Regions from separate parts of the Homo sapiens genome. Here regions 1 and 2 are each linked to region 3. Evidence: promoter capture Hi-C in 16 types of primary human blood cells and fetal thymus (Javierre and others, 2016). All regions are on one chromosome and are shown on one strand. The core of a region is centred on a gene start or on the middle of the fragment in contact, and the rest is flanking DNA. Distances in the headings are between cores, read along the strand shown. Region 1 overlaps KPNA6 (karyopherin subunit alpha 6). Region 2 overlaps TXLNA (taxilin alpha). Region 3 holds the start of MARCKSL1 (MARCKS like 1).

Region 1 (3,201 bases), core at 450-2,949, 180 kb after region 3:
AGTCTTGCTCTGTCACCCAGGCTGGAGTGCAATGGCACGATCTCGGCTCACTGCAACCTCTGCCTCCCAGGTTCAAATGATTCTCCTGCCTCAGCCTCCCAAGTAGCTGGGATTACAGGCGCCTGCCACTGCGCCCAGCTAATTTTTGTATTTTTAGTAGAGACGGGGTTTCACCATGTTGGTCAGGCTGGTCTCGAACTCCTGACCTTGTGATCCGCCCACCTTGGCATCCCAAAGTGCTGGGATTATAAGCATAAGCCACCGTGCCCAGCCAGAACCTGTACCCCTTCTAAGACCACTCACATCAGCAGCTCTACCAATCTCCGGCAGACTCCGGAGTCTATGACTGCCTGGATCTTCTCATTGGGGCCATCAGACAGATAAGAAAGGGCCCAGCAAGCATCTGCCAGCAAGTCCGAGTCGCTGCTGAAGAGTAGGCGAGACAGTACAGGCAAACAAGGAGAGACCTGTGGGAAGCAGAGTGAGAAAGACTCACAGGGGAACAAGACTATATCAGCTCTATCACGAACCCTAACATTGCAACCACCGCCCCCACAATACACACACACAAGTAATTCCAGACCCTAGGGATCGCTACTACATTAAACATTTGGGTCTACCTTTTCACTTTACTATCCAGGTACACAAGATCATCTACTTCACTAACAATTGCTTCTTTCAGTTTCCCATGATTTGAGACTCCAAGGAGTATCCCAAAGACTTAAAAACTCCATATGAAGGAACCTGATGTCACTCAGGGTCTAGTAAGTAGCTCTCTCACCTTTGCAAACTCTGGGGGTGGGTTTTTCCCTCGGCAGAGATTTGACAGGGCCCAGACTGCATTCCGTGTCATCGTCAGTCGTGTGGACTTGGTAAGGAGTCTGAAGGAAACAGCAAAGCCAGATCCTGAGCACTGAGGCCTTGGCATAGGACTGTTGCCAATGAACCCAGAGACAAATCCAATGAGACCTCTCAGACTCTAGCAGCCTGTTTCTTCCTACTCACAGACCTAAGTTAATAGAGCTGGTATAGGTTAGGAGGCCAGGCTCTATACAGAGTATTCATTTCAGGACCAGCTGTGGCTAGTTAATACCATAGATAATAGGGACGAAACAGAGGGCTAGATCTGGAGTAAGCCTGTAAAGCTTCTAAAGTGGGATATATCATGCCCATAACCCTGGCCACAAGTCCAGGACAAGGAATGGTGTTCTCTGGAAATAAAAGCTAAAAGTCTAAGAAATAAAAGCTATAGGTCTACTGTGAGAGCTTTAGCCACACAGTATGGAATAATTTTCTGTGAAGGGTCCAAGAAAGTGACAGTGGTAGGCTATGAGACTGTGGTCTCTGAAGAACAGTTCATTCATCTGTTTTGGTTTAGGCATAGTTTACTCTAAGGGTACGGAGGGAAGGATGGGAGAAGGATACAATGACGCTTCACGGGGTCTTTGATCTATAATTTACGACAGAGCTGTCCGATGTATGTATGCAAAACCCCATAACAAATCAATGCATTTTGTAGAGAAGGTTGGATTTTTCCAGGTGGGCTAGTCCTGCCTCTCTCCCCTGGCTCAACAATGAGGAGGATATGAGGATATGACTAACATGAGGTTCTGCAGTGCCATGAAGTGAGGAACAAGATCCTTTTTGGCAGATGGGTGGCACAATCTTTTTTTTTTTTCACTCTTTTGCCCAGGCTGAAGTGCAGTGGTGTGATCAATCACAGCTCACTGTAGCCTTGATCTCCCTGGGCTCAGGTGATCCTCCCTGCCTCAGCCTCCCAAGTAGCTGAGTCTACAGGTGCCTGCCACCACACCTGGCTAACTTTTGTATTTTTTGTAGAGTTGGGGTTTCACCATGTTGCCCAGGCTGGTTTTGAACTCTAGGCTCAAGGGATCCACCTGCTCTGGCCTACCAAAGTGCTGGGATTACAGGCATAAGCCACCATGCCCGGCCACAACCTTCTCAATCTCCAAAGATACCTATCTTTTACTTTGGCAATCAGAATGCATTTTTATAGTTTTTGCACTTACCTATCATCTTAAGGAATCAAGTATGCTGCCCCCAAATGACCTGCCACGTGGCCACCCAGTAGACGCCCAGGTACAGATGATTATAATTACTCACGTTAACAAAGGATTAAGGATGGAACAGTTCAAGACGTAATCTCGGCAAACAGAGCTATCTCCAGCTATGTTTCCCAGTGCCCAGACTGCCTGAAAAGGGGATAATGAAACTGTCACCCACAAAGCTTGGTACTCCTGTGAGTACTTTATAGCCACAACTGCAAAGTGAGTACCCACCAGGATGAGAATGATGTCAAGGCCCCAAATATACTACACAAGCTCAGGTAACCTCCCTATTGAAATTCTTACTGAGCACTTGTTCTACAATGACCTATCCCTGGGAGTTCCTGGTTCAGCAGGGAAAGACAGGCTGCCATCTGTACTATAGCCACAGAAGCCAAAACAATATCGCCCAGAAAAGGAGAAAGTAATCAGAAAGTTGCATTTTTTTTTTTTTTTTTTTTTGAGACGGAGTCTCGCTCTGTCACCCAGGCTGGAGTGCAGTGGCACAATCTCTGCTCACTGTAACCTCCACCTCCCGGGTTCAAGTGATTCTCCTGTCTCAAGCCTCCTGAATAGCTGGGATTACAGGTAAGCTCCACCATGCCCAGCTAACTTTTTAGTATTTTTAGTAGAGATGGAGTTTCACCATGTTGGTCAGGCTGGTCTTGAACTCCTGACCTCGTGATCTGCCCACCTCGGCCTCCCAAAGTGCTGGGATTATAGGCGTGAGCCACCGCGCCTGGCGAAAGTTGCACTCTTGTAGCTGCCTTGGACCAAGTCTATAAAAGAGCCCACTACCACTCTCCAATTCTATCCAACTAGTAAGAATTCAATGGGAGAAATGGAAGTTGTATCTTTATCTCCATGATTTGTGGGTACTCAGATATGGGTACTGTGGTGTCTTTTTTCCAATGGCACTTCCAACAACAAATGTATAGAGTTTTTTCCACATCAACCACCCATTCTCTGATACCAACCATGTGTCCAACGATTTAATTCAATTCTGACTCTAACACCTAGAGTTAATGCAGAGTCCGCAGGTTAGTCCCACAAGACTGCCCCAACTTGAGATACCAGTTGCAAGTCCCAGGGGCCATCTGTACTTGACACCCCTATCACTCAGGAAATTCCAAGA
Region 2 (3,101 bases), core at 340-2,839, 150 kb after region 3:
TGAAATCTCCTTAGTAGGCACCATTGGCAGGAGAAAAAAACTGCCTGCTCTACCAATAGAAGAAAGGTGTCCCACTTATGAATTCAGGGCTACTGTTTCATACTGTTTCAATGCAAGGAAGGCCCACCCTCCTGATAGAGGTAGGATCCAAAAAGGAATAGGTATCTTAGCCTCCTTGAGAAATACTAAACTCTTGTCAACAGAGTAGCCAAACAGTGAACTTTAAAATGAAGATACTTTCGGCCAGGCAAGGTGGCTCATGCCTGTAATCCCAGCACTTTGGGAGGCCGAGGCAGGCGGATCACGAGGTCAAGAGATCGAGACCATCCTAACATGGTGAAACCCCATCTCTACTAAAGACATACACAAAAAAATTAGCTTGGTGTGGTGGCACGCGCCTGTAGTCCCAGTTACTCCGGAGGCTGAGGTAGGAGAATCGCTTGAACCCAGGAGGCGGAGGTTGCAGTGAGCCCAGATCGCGCCACTGCACTCCAGCTTGGTGACAGAGCGAGACTCTGTCTAAAAAAATTAATTAATTAAAAAAAAAAGGCAGGGTACAGTGGCTTACGCCTGTAATCCCAGCACTTTGGGAGGCTGAGGCGGGCGGATCACGAGGTCAGGAGATCAAAACCATCCTGGCTAACACAGTGAAACCCCGTCTCTACTAAAAAAAATACAAAAAAATTAGCCGGGCATGGTAGCAGGAGCCTGTAGTCCCAGCTACTCGGGAGGCTGAGGCAGGAGAATGGCGTGAACCCAGGAGGTGGAGCTTGCAGTGAGCCGAGATCGCGCCACTGCACTCCAACCTAGGGACAGAGCGAGGCTCCATCTCAAAAAAAAAAAAAAAAAAAAAAGGCAGGGTACGGTGGCCCACGCCTGTAATCCCAGCACTTTGGGAGGCCCAGGTGGGCGGATCATGAGGTCAGGAGATCGAGACTATCCTGGCTAACACAGTGAAACCCTGTCACTACTAAAAAAATACAAAAATTAGCCGGGCATGGTGGCAGGCGCCTGTAGTCCCAGCTACTCGGGAGGCTGAGGCAGGAGAATGGTGTGAACCCGGGAGGCGGAGCTTGCAGGGAGCTGAGATCGCGCCAGTGCACTCCAGCTTGGGTGACAGAGCAAGACTCCATCTCAGTTGGGGGTGGGGGGTGAAGAAGATGATACTTTCCATGTATGTGACGTTAAGATTTTTTCCTTTTTCTTTTTTTGAGATGGAGTCTCACCCTGTCACCCAGGCTGGAGTGCAATGGCATGATCTCAGCTCACTGAAAACTCTGCCTCACGGGTTCAAGTGATTCTCCTGCCTCAGCCTCCCGAGTATCTGGGATTATAGGCACGTGCCACCACGCCCGGCTGATTTTTTGTATCTTTAGTAGAACTGGGGTTTCACCATGTTGGCCAGGCTGGTCTCGAACTCCTGACCTCATAATCTGCCTGCCTTGGCCTCCCAAAGTGCTGGAGTTACAGGTGTGAGCCACTCTGCCTAGTCGTCCCTAAGATTTTTTAAAGTTCCTCTTTAAAGTAAGAGGATACATAAGGGGAAAAGGGAATAGGAATAAAACATGGATATAATGACACTCGACTTAGATTCTAGATTCTTTTTTTTTTTTTTTGAGACAGAGTTTCACTCTTGTCACCCAGGCTGGATGTAGTGGCACAATCTCAGTTCACTGCAACCTCTGCCTCCCGGGTTCAAGCCATTCTCCTGCCTCAGCCTCCCAAGTAGCTGGGATTACAGGCGTGTGCCAGCATGTCCAGCTAATTTTTGTATTTTTAGTAGAGACGGGATTTCATCATGTTGGCCAGGCTGTTCTCGAACTCCTGACCCTCAGGTGATCCACCCGCCTCGGCCTCCCAAAGTGCTGCAATTACAGGCGTGAGCCACCACACCCGGCCTAGACTCTTAAACATACATACCCTGCTGTAAAATGACTGTCACTGCCTATTCCCCATTGCCTGTGACTGAGTCAGGGAGCCTTCCCTCTGCCTCCCCAGAAGGGCCCAAGAGATCAGCATGGAGACTGCAATTCGCAGGCATGTGTGCCAAATCCAACCCACGGATGGGTTTTGTTTGGCTCTTACCATTTTAGCTGCTAACTATGAAAAAATCTAGAGTTCTCACATAACTCTAGATTTCTGGCTTTTCTTTATTTAAAAAAAAAAAAAAAAAAAAAAAGCCTGACTGCACCCAGCCTGTAGTTTTGCCTGCTCTCAGTTGGCTAGCTGAGAGCAACTAATCAGGAAGCAGTAAAGCCTCCATCTTCAGGTGGCCCCATGGCCAGCCCAGCTTATGCAGATATTTGGGTTTTCAACTCTGGCCTAGTCTAATTTTCTTACTGTAAAGAGAAATATAAACTAAGACCCAGAGAGGAGAAGGGACACACCCAAGGTCACACAGCAGGTAGTACTGGCTGGCACAGGAGCCTACCCTAGCCTCCCGTCTCCATTTTCTCAAAGAGAGAACAGGTCCCATGCCAAGCTCCAGTTGCTCCAAAACCCAGAAGGCTTTGTGCTGGTAACTCCTGCATCTCTCTATGCCGTGGCCCCCACATCCCTGGCTTTGATTAGACTAGAGTGACTTGCTGCTCTGAGAAGTACCGTTTTCCTTTGAATCCTGGCAGAACAGACTGGCCCAGAGAACGTCAAGTCCAAACTCCCTCTCCTCACCAGCTTCACAAAGAGCCGCCCTCTGCTCACCCAAACCCTTGGCTTTTTTCTTCTCCTGTGGCCTTCGATGGTCTCGGTCTCCGACCTCGTCACTCTGCCGGATCTCTTCTGTGTTTGGATCCCCCTTGGAGGGTTCCTTCTCTCCATTGACTACTGGAGTTGGTTCAGGCTCCCCATTCCTTGCCACATAGGTCCGGGACTTCTCTGCATCTTCGGGTTCAGCCGGCTCACCCTGTGCCCCATCCTCGCCGGGGCCCCCCTGGTTATTGTCCACACAGTATGTGCTCAGTATGTCTTCCAGTTGGCGGCTCAGCTCCTCAGAGACATCACGAAGGGCCCCAGACTGAGCCGTTCTGGCTTGAGCCCCTACAGCAGGAGAGGATGAGGGGTAGAGTGAGAAAGAAGACGATTATACCACTGGTTGGGATTTT
Region 3 (3,052 bases), core at 408-2,907:
GCCTCCCACTCTGACCAGGCAGCCCCAGATCTCAACAGAAAATTCTGCCAGGGGATTCCTTACAGCCCTTGGCCCATGTTATCAAACCTCTCCAAGCCTTTTCTCACCCTCAGCTACTGGTAGCTGCTGTGTGCCCTTGGGCATGTCACTTTCTCTTCCTGAACCTCAGGGTCCCAGTCTGTGAAATGGGGCGGGGGTGGGGGGCAAGTGAAGCTGAGATAGCTGAGGGTATTCTGTAGTCTCAGGGTGGGGGTGGGGATGGAGGATACAGGAGTGAGTGCAGAATGCAGAAGCCACCTCAGCCCTCCCCGCCCCTCTGTGGTCAGATCTCTGGGGAGTTCCCAATTTCTCAGGCCCTGGGGTGTCTCCACACTTCACAGCCTCAGGCCTCCCAGGAGGCTTCACCGTAGGAGGGAGGGGAGGGACTTGCTGAGCTGGCTGGGACACAGCCTTGCATTTGCAACACTTTGCTTCCTTCCAGCCCCCATCCCTTTCCTCCTGGGGGCTGAGGGCTGGCAGCCGGACACAGACATCCGGGGCCGGCCAGGATTCTGGGGTTCCCACCAGCCTATCCAGGCCAGCAGAAGGAGAGGTGGCAGAGGACCAAAGCTAGGGAGTCTCCAGCCCGGAGCACCTCCGGGCTCCCTTGCTCTCAGGCAGGGTGGGAAGCTGGGCTGGGCAGCTTTGAGGGCTGTCCTCAAGGGGCTGTCCCTTGAAGGGACCCTTGGTAGCATCCTATCCCTCCCCTTCAGAAACTGGGGTGTTTTGAGGTTTGTTGAGTCCCCAGCTGGGGTTCCTCTGCCGGCCTGGGGCACCCTGATGTAGGGGAGCAGAGTTGTGTGTGGAGGTAAAGAGGAAGGACCAGAGCCAAGTCAGACAGGTTGTCAATGCCTCTGAGCCTTGGCCTTTCAATGGGGATGGAGATGCCCTTCAAGGTCACAAAGTCCCCCACGTGGGACTTTGCAGTGGGTCCAGGCTGAGGGCAGGAGGGGCTCAAGGCGAATCTGTCTGTCCCCACTCAGAATGACTGGCCACCAAGGGACTGAAAGGAGGAATGAGGGAAAGGCCTCACTAGTCCGACCAGAGTGACCCCGAGGCAAGGCAGAGCCCTCCGCTCCCCGGCTGGCCATGGCAGGCAGGCAGGGACGTGGGTGGGACCTCTGACCGCTCTCCAGGCCGGAGCGGGTGCCGAGCCCAGCGCAGGGGCCCTGCAGCTTCTATGACCACATTTCTAGAGTATAATTCAGGACCAGCCATCTGACGAGCCTGGTCGTGTGAGCCCTTCGAAGGGTTCAAGCGGGAGACTGCCAGCGGCTGCAGGACCAAGGCGTTGGGGGCCGCTCCAGGCTGCGGGGGCGCCCACCGGAGAGGTGGAGCGGAGAGGATGGAATGACTGCCCGTCTCCTTCCTCCAGGCCCCCCGCCCCGCCCCGCCCAGCTCGCGGGAGGACTGGCCTCGCTCCTGCCCACACCGGACTCTACCTGCCCCTGGGATTCGGGTGGGGTGGGGGGTACCCGACCGCCAGCGTCGCCTGCTGCGCAAGTGGGGCCTGCGAGCCAACCCCGCCTCCGCCCCTCGATTGGGCGCGCATTTAAATGTCCGGCCCCGCCCCGAGCTCCGGGCGCTTATATATAGGCAGCTCGGCGGGCGGCGGGCGGCATTCTGGCGCGGAGCGGAGCGGCGGCGGGCGCAGCTAGCGGGTCGGCCGCGGAGCGGAGGTGCAGCTCGGCTTCCCCCGGCACCCCTCCCCCTCGGGCGCCAGCCCCACCCCTCCGCCGGCCGGGCCGACCCCGCCGTACTATCCCCTGCGGCGCGAGCCCGGGGCGGCTCCAAGCGCCCCCCAGCAGACCCCCATCATGGGCAGCCAGAGCTCCAAGGCTCCCCGGGGCGACGTGACCGCCGAGGAGGCAGCAGGCGCTTCCCCCGCGAAGGCCAACGGCCAGGTGGGTACGCTTGGCCCGGCCGGCCCCAGCCCCTCCTCTCGCACCTCGCCCCTTCTAGGGCCCGGGGCCGGGGCCGGGGCCGCGCGCTTTGTCCGGCCCGGGACACGCGGCGCCCCCTCCCCCGCCCGGTCCCTTTGTTCTCGGCGCCGCAGCCCCCGCGGGCGAAGCGAGGGGAGGGGCGGGGAGGGGGCGCCGGCCGGGCCCTGCCGCCTTCTTTGTTCGCGGCCCCGGTCCCCGGCGCTGCCCCCCGGCCGCCCCGAGTGCCGCGCGGGGAACAAAGGCGCTGCTGGGCCACGCCAAGGGGGCGCCCAGGGGCCGCGGAGCTGGGGCCCGGCGGGGAGCGCACTCCACCCGCCGACCCGACCTCGGTGGCCCACGGTCTTTTTTTTTTTAAGGGGGAGCCGAGATGCGGGAGAGCCTGGGGTGGGTGGGGGCCACTTACACAAAGCGGGAGGCTGGGAAAATAGGCCGTCCAGGTGCAGAGAGACAGCGCCCCGGGGCGGCTTCCCGCCCAATGTCGCCTAGAGCGGCTCGCCCGCCTGCCCGGGATCCGCACAGCAGATCCGGAGCGGTTCCGCGCGGAATAGAGAGCGCGCCCCGGGGGACGGGGGTGGGGGCCACGGGACCCCAGCGCCTCCTGCCGGTCGCGCCCTCTGCGCGCTCGCTCCCCGCGCGCCCGTGAGGGGCGAGAGGGAGGTGTTTGACGGGATCCTGGGTGTGGGTGAGGCTGAAGCCAGACTTTCGGGTTGCAGTAGAATCGAATCGAGGACCCCTTCCTCTAGAAGGGATCAGAAGCGGGCTGGGGGAGGGGGAGCCCCTGCCCTCATTGCTATTCCCTCTGCCCTGCAGGAGAATGGCCACGTGAAAAGCAATGGAGACTTATCCCCCAAGGGTGAAGGGGAGTCGCCCCCTGTGAACGGAACAGATGAGGCAGCCGGGGCCACTGGCGATGCCATCGAGCCAGCACCCCCTAGCCAGGGTGCTGAGGCCAAGGGGGAGGTCCCCCCCAAGGAGACCCCCAAGAAGAAGAAGAAATTCTCTTTCAAGAAGCCTTTCAAATTGAGCGGCCTGTCCTTCAAGAGAAATCGGAAGGAGGGTGGGGGTGATTC

The links. The method cuts DNA at HindIII sites, captures the fragments that hold promoters and counts their contacts. A CHiCAGO score of 5 or more calls a contact.
Region 1: a fragment that was not itself captured here is called in contact with the fragment with the promoter of MARCKSL1 in region 3 in 1 of 17 cell types (total CD8 T cells); the score reaches 5.4 in total CD8 T cells.
Region 2: a contact is called between a fragment that was not itself captured here and the fragment with the promoter of MARCKSL1 in region 3, in 8 of 17 cell types (non-activated CD4 T cells, activated CD4 T cells, naive B cells and 5 more). The highest score is 8.4, in non-activated CD4 T cells.

What each region holds. Positions count from the first base shown.
Region 1 is chr1:32,159,627-32,162,827 of GRCh38, reverse strand. It overlaps KPNA6 (karyopherin subunit alpha 6), which reads right to left. Exons shown (of 14, transcript NM_012316.5): 7 at 2,125-2,213; 8 at 782-881; 9 at 304-467. Among named protein-coding and RNA genes, the nearest start is that of TXLNA, 18 kb to the left of the region's middle. The HindIII fragment of the contact is 1,103 bases long and covers 1,148-2,250 here.
Region 2 is chr1:32,181,177-32,184,277 of GRCh38, reverse strand. TXLNA (taxilin alpha) reads right to left here. Exons shown (of 11, transcript NM_175852.4): 3 at 2,701-3,036. Among named protein-coding and RNA genes, the nearest start is that of TXLNA, 3.1 kb to the right of the region's middle. The HindIII fragment of the contact is 4,926 bases long and covers 1-3,101 here.
Region 3 is chr1:32,334,838-32,337,889 of GRCh38, reverse strand. MARCKSL1 (MARCKS like 1) reads left to right here and starts at 1,657. Exons shown (of 2, transcript NM_023009.7): 1 at 1,657-1,943; 2 at 2,793-3,052. The coding sequence starts at 1,857. LOC124903949 (a long non-coding RNA gene) reads right to left here and starts at 2,513. Exons shown (of 2, transcript XR_007065661.1): 1 at 2,386-2,513. RefSeq lists silencers at 284-412, 1,346-1,875, 1,896-2,045, 2,176-2,255, 2,396-2,835 and enhancers at 1,076-1,165, 1,435-2,004. The HindIII fragment of the contact is 20,076 bases long and covers 1-3,052 here.